3 separate regions of the Homo sapiens genome follow, and all the other regions are linked to region 3. Evidence: promoter capture Hi-C in 16 types of primary human blood cells and fetal thymus (Javierre and others, 2016). All regions are on one chromosome and are shown on one strand. The core of a region is centred on a gene start or on the middle of the fragment in contact, and the rest is flanking DNA. Distances in the headings are between cores, read along the strand shown. Region 1 has its middle 550 kb from the start of LRRC70. Region 2 has its middle 550 kb from the start of HTR1A. Region 3 holds the start of HTR1A (5-hydroxytryptamine receptor 1A).

What was found. The method cuts DNA at HindIII sites, captures the fragments that hold promoters and counts their contacts. A CHiCAGO score of 5 or more calls a contact.
Region 1: a fragment that was not itself captured here is called in contact with the fragment with the promoter of HTR1A in region 3 in 1 of 17 cell types (endothelial precursors); the score reaches 7.8 in endothelial precursors.
Region 2: a contact is called between a fragment that was not itself captured here and the fragment with the promoter of HTR1A in region 3, in 1 of 17 cell types (endothelial precursors). The highest score is 5.1, in endothelial precursors.

What each region holds. Positions count from the first base shown.
Region 1 is chr5:63,124,289-63,126,988 of GRCh38, reverse strand. No RefSeq gene overlaps it. Among named protein-coding and RNA genes, the nearest start is that of LRRC70, 550 kb to the right of the region's middle. RefSeq lists an enhancer at 1,208-1,758. The HindIII fragment of the contact is 2,352 bases long and covers 228-2,579 here.
Region 2 is chr5:63,410,667-63,413,366 of GRCh38, reverse strand. No RefSeq gene overlaps it. Among named protein-coding and RNA genes, the nearest start is that of HTR1A, 550 kb to the left of the region's middle. The HindIII fragment of the contact is 3,127 bases long and covers 1-2,700 here.
Region 3 is chr5:63,961,188-63,963,887 of GRCh38, reverse strand. It overlaps HTR1A (5-hydroxytryptamine receptor 1A), which reads left to right and starts at 1,443. Exons shown (of 1, transcript NM_000524.4): 1 at 1,443-2,700. The coding sequence starts at 2,169. RefSeq lists an enhancer at 1,729-2,700. The HindIII fragment of the contact is 6,748 bases long and covers 1-2,700 here.

The DNA.
Region 1 (2,700 bases), core at 154-2,653, 840 kb after region 3:
AAAGGAAATCTGAAAGATAATGAATCTGGAAAATATAACCAGAAGCTTTACAACTTATCTCTGACTTTGGAGTTTCCTTCCCCTAGGTCTTTCCTCCTAGACCAGCCTTCAATATGAAGTACCTACAAGAAAATGAACAATTACTTAAGATAAGTAAAGCAAGCTGATTTTTATTTTACTTCCGTTTTTCCAGATGTACTCAGTTTATGGAAGGAAAAGGTAAAGCTTTGACTTAAATTTTACAAGTGAATTATAGCTGTAGACAAAGCTATGTGCATCCAAGAAGTCCTCTTCTCTTAGGACAGTTTGCTTATTTATGGAATTGTGTCTCCCACCAAAAAATTCATTTGTTGAAGTTCTAACCCCTAAAACCTCAAAATGTACTTGCATTTGGAGATAGATACTTTAAAGAGGTAATTAAATTAACACGAGTTGATTAAATTGGACCTTAATCCAGTATAACTGATCCTTCTAAGAAAAGGAAATATGGGCACAGACACACTCATACCAGTGAAAGACAATGTGAAAACACCCATTTATAAGCCAAAAAGAGAGGACAGGAACAGGCCTGCATCTTTCCCTCATGGCCCTCAGAAGGAACCAGCCCTGCTGATGCCTTAACCTGGGACTTCTATTCTCCAGAACTGTGAACAAATACATTTCAGTTGTTTAAGCTCCCCAGTCTGTACTACCTTATTACAGCAGCCCTAGCAAATTAACATACCGCACTAAAGCATCTGAGCACTTTGGCCATGCTTCAGTAGGTTTTTCCTTCATTTGTTCCAGGTAATTGGAAAAGTCTGCCAATTTTTTGTATTTAGATTAACTAACAAGAAGGTGGAGGGTCTCCAACTTTTAAATGGAGGTGCTATTATGGGCAAACCAGTGGCCTTGGAGATAACTAGTCCCTCGGGCTGACTCACTGACTCCCCCACAAAATGCAGTCATCCCAGCCATTGATCTATCTCTTACAAAGGAAATATTTCTATAACAAGGCAATGACCTCTACTGGAAGCAGTGCAGAATTACAGAAATCCCAGTAAGTCTCAAGCTAGACAGAGACAGACAGAGAGACAGAGTGAGAGAGAGAGAGAGACAGAGAGAGAGAGAAACGGTTTTAAGTGTTAAGAAGAAATGACCCACATAGGAATTTTTAAGGGAGAATACTGTTACCCCCAACCACTAAAGAAATCTAAACTGAAAGGAAGTATAAAAGAATAAAAGTAGGGAAACTTTTAAATCACATGTTGCTGGTTGTTGCTGAGGGGAAGGTTGGGGAGAGGGAGGATCACACTGGCTGAGGAGCATCTCCACACTTGCACCTCAGAAGGATTCTAGCTCCTTCCTCAGGGAGTGGTCTACCAACTGCTCATCAGCAGAGGTGCCACCCAGCCCCCCAACCCCAGACTTCATGAGAATCTAAGTTTCAGGAAGTCTCCCCAGGGGTTCTGTAAACACATTAAAGTTTGAGAAGCACTGCCATCTCCCTCATTCAGAAAGAGTGACATTTCAATGGTGTCCTTAGTCCTCTTTAGCATTTCCCAGGGGTGGAAATGCAAATCAACAGAAAGAAGGCACCATACATGAAACACTCTAGGTTCTAAGTTCTAAGCTCACTTGTCTTCACTTAAGTACATATAACACAGCTACTCATAAAATAATACAGGTTGAATTAACAAATGTTTAATTCGCCATTGGTTTTTTTCCTTATAAAACCTTAAAACTAAACTAATGACAGCTTTGGAACTCTCTGATTTCTAGAGTTTTCCATGAAAATGCTGATCCTTCTAGTTCTGCTATTAATCATCCTTCTGTCAGGGAGGCAAGGAGTTTGAATTTTCACTCTCCTTAGTGAATATGTTTCACATACCAAAATTACTTCAGCAATTTGCTCAACAGCTTTAGAAGCCATTACTAAATTGCAGCTCAAATTCATTTCATCTGTTTTCTAAACTGGCTCTAAAATTTATCTTCACAAATTAGTCTAAAGCCTGGTAACAAGAATCAGCTATTTTTCTTCATCAGGAAAGACAGATTTTCTTGTAAATGCCCGCAACACCAGAGTACATTAATTTGTTTACAAATACAGTTTATTTCTGAAGGTGTTCTGGTGAATGTCTAACAACCAGCTCCCAAAAAATGGTTTGAATTTTTGTTATTTGCCAATTGCCATAGTGTAAATTTTCCCACCTTAACCAATTTCAAGATACTAACGTGATCATGGAGCTAGGAAAAGATGAACACAATTGCCTCCTGGCAATGCAAGTAGGTTGTAGCACACCATTATTTATTCTCAAAATACTACCAAATACCCCCCATTCTTCAGACAATTTCTGGTATTGATTTCAAAATATATGTCAGCATGCAATATATGTGCTGTACAACTGTACAAGCTAAATATTTACCAAAGTAAAACAGGCTTGAGATAAATTATTGGTTTTATTAATGACGTGATTATTTTATTATAACAGTAAAAAGGTTGTTCATCAAAAATTTGATGCAACTCTTTTTTGCTTATGAAACATTCATGAGAACAGATACAAAACAGCTGCTGACTCCAACACTGACTGTAATAAGCTTATTCTGCCCACACTTAGCTGCAGGAGCATTCTTCCATTATTTCATTAAGAAGGCTCAGTTTGTATTTGGTGTCCCTCTTATGTTTTTACATTTTATTTCCTTTGTATGTATGTGTCTGTA
Region 2 (2,700 bases), core at 166-2,665, 550 kb after region 3:
TTTAATAGAACTGAGTTGGAGCCTAGGTAATTCAAATTCAAAATTAAATTGAGAATTGCTGGACTTTGCAAGAAGAATTCCAAGGCTCCTTCTAGTATGAAAATTCTAGAATACAATTATTTAACTGAGAATAATTATCCTTTTGAACTACAATCATAGATTAATGATTTTATGGTCCCTTAACTAGCCAACTGTCTAACAGTAACAATAATAATACCTAATATTTTCTCAGGAGTTTACTCTGTGCCTGATACTCTAGCACATTAAATGTATTTTTGTATATTTTTAACAATCCCATGAAGTAGGGACTATTGTTATCCTCATTACAGAGATGAGAAAATTTAGAAATAAATGATAATGTGGCAAACACTATCAGAACACTTATTTTATGCCAGGCATTATTCTAATATTCTAAGATTCAAATACTTGAATATTGTTAGCCAGGTGTGGTAGCTCACATCTGTAATCCCAGCACTTTGAGAGGCTGAGGCAGGTGGATCACTTGAGGCCAGGGGTTTGAGACCAGGTTGCCCAACATGGCAAAACCGTATCTCTAGTAAAAATACAAAAAAAAAAAAAAAATTAGCCAGTCTTGGTGGTATGCTCCTGTATTCCCAGCTACTAGGGAGGCTGAGACATGAGAATCACTTGAACTTGGGAGGCAGAGGTTTCAGTGAGTGGAAATCGAACCACTGCACTTCAGCCTGGGTAGTAGAGTAAGACTGTCTTGGAAAAAATAAATCTTCAAAGATGATCTATTGTTAGAATTTAGTCTTATATTCCATATGTTACATATAGAATATATAATGTATATTTTATATATCTAATATATTATATAATTTACATGTAATATATAATGTATAATATATATTTTATATATTATGTATATAAAAATCTCACAACAACACTATGAGGATGGACTGTTATTATTCTCATTTTTACAGATGATGAATTAAAAATACATTAAATAACATGTATTAAGATTACATAGTAATTGGCAGATCTAGGATTAAAACCCCAGCAGTCTAGCTCCAGAAACCATGCTCTTAACCACTATCACAATACAGATATACATACCATCTCTCAGAAATGTTGGGTAACCATTTCAAGTTCATGTAGTTAGTAAGAGGGCATCACTAAAAGGAAGTATACACATCATTTGATTCCATAGCTCGTGTTCATAATTATTACACTATTAGAAATGCCTGGAAGCAACTGGTTCTACCTGATTGGTGGTAGCATGTGGGAAACTCAAGGGCATGACGTAGGAATGCCAGGTTTACTCAAGCTATATGTCAGAAACATAAACATTGGATGGAAAATATTATGTTCTCCTTTAAGTTCTCACATATCACCTTTTGAATTCTTTCACTCTTCTGTGTAGTTCTTCTTATTATGTGCAGCAATGAAAAATATGGCACAGGTGAATAAATTCATCTACAGTCTTCCTCTAATATTGAATGGTGCTGCATTATAAAAGGAAAAATTGGCTTTTATTGAGTGTCTACTACATGCCAAGCATCACACCTGTCTGTGGCAAATTTTTTAAAAATGCATTAATTCATGTCAAATAACAACGACAAACCTATTACATTACCCATAACATATTTTTATGAAAAGTGACAATATTTTCAAAAACAAAAAATTATTTGTATTCGTGAGAAAAGTGACATTGTTTTACATTTTTGCAAATCTTTTTAATGTCTAGCTTAGGTAAATTCAGCTGGATTCTCATGTCTGCCTCTATATTTAATCTGTTATACTGTCAGACATGTAGTAGCTGGAAAATTCAGTGTACACGTGGTGGAGTGGAAATAATTTTGATGCCGTTAGACCTCCTGAAAGAGTCTCAGGGTCCACCAGCGGCTCTCGGACTACACTTTGAGAGCTACTGTGAAAAATAAGAGATGTCAGTTATTCTCAAAAGAAATGCACTTCAACCACCATATAAAAGAAGTTTAAAACTCAGTGATTAAAACAAAAAAAAATTTTACTGGGCAAAGGATTTTAGTGGACCTTTCTGCAAAGAATGTATACAATAGGAGCATGAAAAGATATTCAACATTAGTTATTAGGCAAGTGCAATTTTAAAACCGCAATGAAATACCACTTCACACACACTAAGATAACTAAAATGGACAAGACAGACAACAAATGTTGGTGAGGATGTGAGGGAGTTGGAACCCTTATACATTGCTGGTAAGTTTACAAAATGGTAAAGCTGCTTTAGGAAACTATTTAGCAGGTCCTAAAAATAGTAAGCATAAAGACCAAACATCACATTCCTTGGTATATATTCAATAGAGACATATATTCATACAAAAACTTGTACACAGTATTTATGGCAGCATTATTTATAGGAGCCAAAAACTAGAAAGTATCCACATGTCCATCACCTAATGAATAAAAATATGTGTAATATCCAAACACTGCAATATTATTCAGTCATAAAAATGAATAAAGTGCTGGTGCATGCTGCTACATGGATGAACCTTGAAAACATTATTGTAAGTGAAATAATCCAATCACAAAAGTTATATACTGTATGATCCCATTCATATGAAATGTCCACAGAATAGGCAAATCCATAGAGGCAGATTTGTGATTGTCAGGAACTGGGAGAGGGGAGGAAGGGAGAGTAAGTGCTAATGTTTATTTCTTGGTTGATGAAAATGTTCTGGAATTGGTAGTAATGGTTGC
Region 3 (2,700 bases), core at 194-2,693:
CATGCAATCAGGATGTATAAGTGAAATGTTGTGTGGTATGTTTACTGTAGTTGCTTAGAAGTCCCATTCTTTACCAATGCTCAAATGTGATTAAATTTGTTTTTCTTGTTAAAGGAAACAGCTTAGAACAAACCCTTGTAAGTATCTTTATTTTCAGTGATTTAACATTTCCAAATGTTAAATCATTTGGAAAATGCAATACTATTCGTTTCTCCAACAAAAGGTAAATTTATGTCAGTTCCAAAGTTCAGGTTATGACAGCACAAAACCAACACAGGTGAAAGTGTTAGCCTAGCTTTATTAAAATGGCATTCCCAGTTAGAACTTGTGAATGACAGATACTTCAGGCTTTCGAAGGAAGCTAAAACATATAATAGGCCTGATATATAAGGTTCAGAGCAAAAGAGGGCACTAAAATAAATTTTTAAAGAAAATAGGAAGGAGACAAAACTCAATACTACCTTGTCTTTTAATAACTGTCTTCCTCTTTCTAAAAGTTGTTGTATTTCCTCAATACTTGCTTCATTTCTGCATAAGGGTTTCCAGATGGCACTCTAAAACATTTGCCAGAAGGTGGCGACATAAAACCTCATTGCTTAGAACTGTCCCAGGTGCTGAACCCAGTTTCTGAGATTAAGAGAGGCTAGCCGGCTAGCGAACCGGGATTCCACCAAGTTTCCCCCAGAGGTTTGCAGGCTCTGGTAAGAAGTGCAAAAGGCCATGTGAAATGCCAGGCTTCACTTAGAACACATATGCAAAATATTTCCATCCCTGAATTTACTAGCCACAAAGCTATGGGAAGTGGCAGTGTCACTGAAATTACAAGTGTAGTAGTGATGGAAAAGTGTGTGTGTGTTTAGAATATATATCACACTGAGTTTTGTTCTTCATTTCGAGATGCAGTTGTTTACCTCTCCTTGTCCTTTGACACGTCCTTTATAATTTCGTTCTCTCCCGGTTCCCCAACGTTAAAAAAAAAGTCACAGGCAATATTCTCCCTGAGGGAGTAAGGCTGGACTGTTAGATGATAACGGAGGTACCGTTTTGTTGTTGTTGTCGTCGTTGTTCGTTTGTTTTTGGAGACGGAGTCTCGCTCTGTCGCCCAGGCTGGAGTGCAATGGCGCGAGAACGGAGGTAGCTTTTTAAAAAGGAAGACACACTCGGTCTTCTTCCATCAATTAGCAATAATTGGGAGACTGACCCAGGACTGTTCACCTTCCCATTCAGGCTCCCTATGCTTCCTTTTCTCATCTCCTATTGCCACTCTGGGATGCTGACACGATTTAAGAATTTGGCAGATAATATGAGGCAAGGAGTAGTTGGAATTCCCTCCCCCAAGTTTTTCCAACCCCAGTTTTGCTGGGTTGGAGGCGGAGTTTATTTGTTACAACCTTGGTCTGACCGGCAGGGATCTGGTGTGTGTAAGTGAGTTCTGAGTCTCTGTTGACAAAAAGAGACTCGAATGCAAAGACGCTGAGCTAGAGGGAGAGGAGGGCGGGGACCCAGAGGAAAGAGGCACTCCTCGGGGTTGGGGAAGTATTAGGAGGGGAGGGTTAGAGTGGGAGGGAAGGAGCCTGGCTTTCGAAGCGACTCACAGAGGGATAAATAAAGGGAAGTGAGGAGGAAGAGGGAGACTGAAAGGGAAGGCAGGTGGGGAGAAGGGGGACGAAAGAGGCAGAAGAGAGAGAAGAGAGGAGGAGAGAGGGGGAGAGAGGGAAGGAAGGAAATAGGGAGAGGAGGGTCACAGAGTGACCGTGGAGGATGGGGCTTCTCGGTTCTAGATATTTCTGGGATTGGAGACTGTTTGCTAGTGGGGAGACTCCAGCTCCGGCAGCCAGTTCGGGAGCGGCAAAGTAAAATGGACAGCGACAGACAGACGTTCCAGCCACCTCTCCGCCGCCGGGAGATCCTGGAGCTGCTTTCAGGCCAACTCCAGTTTCCCAGCTGGAGCTTCTGAACGCGCTGGACTGCGAGAGCCCAGGGAGCGCCTGAAAGCTGCTCCTCGGAGATACCCTTCGCCGAAGCAGTAAGAACTTCCTGCTTGGGTCTCTGCATTCCCTTCCTCCGAAACTTCCCAGGAGAAGGGCGGAAGACCCCAGGGGAAGGGGCGAGGCGAATCTTCGCGCTGCTTTTTCTTCCCTCCCCCTTCCCGCGCCGGGCGCGCAGGCATGGATGTGCTCAGCCCTGGTCAGGGCAACAACACCACATCACCACCGGCTCCCTTTGAGACCGGCGGCAACACTACTGGTATCTCCGACGTGACCGTCAGCTACCAAGTGATCACCTCTCTGCTGCTGGGCACGCTCATCTTCTGCGCGGTGCTGGGCAATGCGTGCGTGGTGGCTGCCATCGCCTTGGAGCGCTCCCTGCAGAACGTGGCCAATTATCTTATTGGCTCTTTGGCGGTCACCGACCTCATGGTGTCGGTGTTGGTGCTGCCCATGGCCGCGCTGTATCAGGTGCTCAACAAGTGGACACTGGGCCAGGTAACCTGCGACCTGTTCATCGCCCTCGACGTGCTGTGCTGCACCTCATCCATCTTGCACCTGTGCGCCATCGCGCTGGACAGGTACTGGGCCATCACGGACCCCATCGACTACGTGAACAAGAGGACGCCCCGGCGCGCCGCTGCGCTCATCTCGCTCACTTGGCTTATTGGCTTCCTCATCTCTATCCCGCCCATGCTGGGCTGGCGCACCC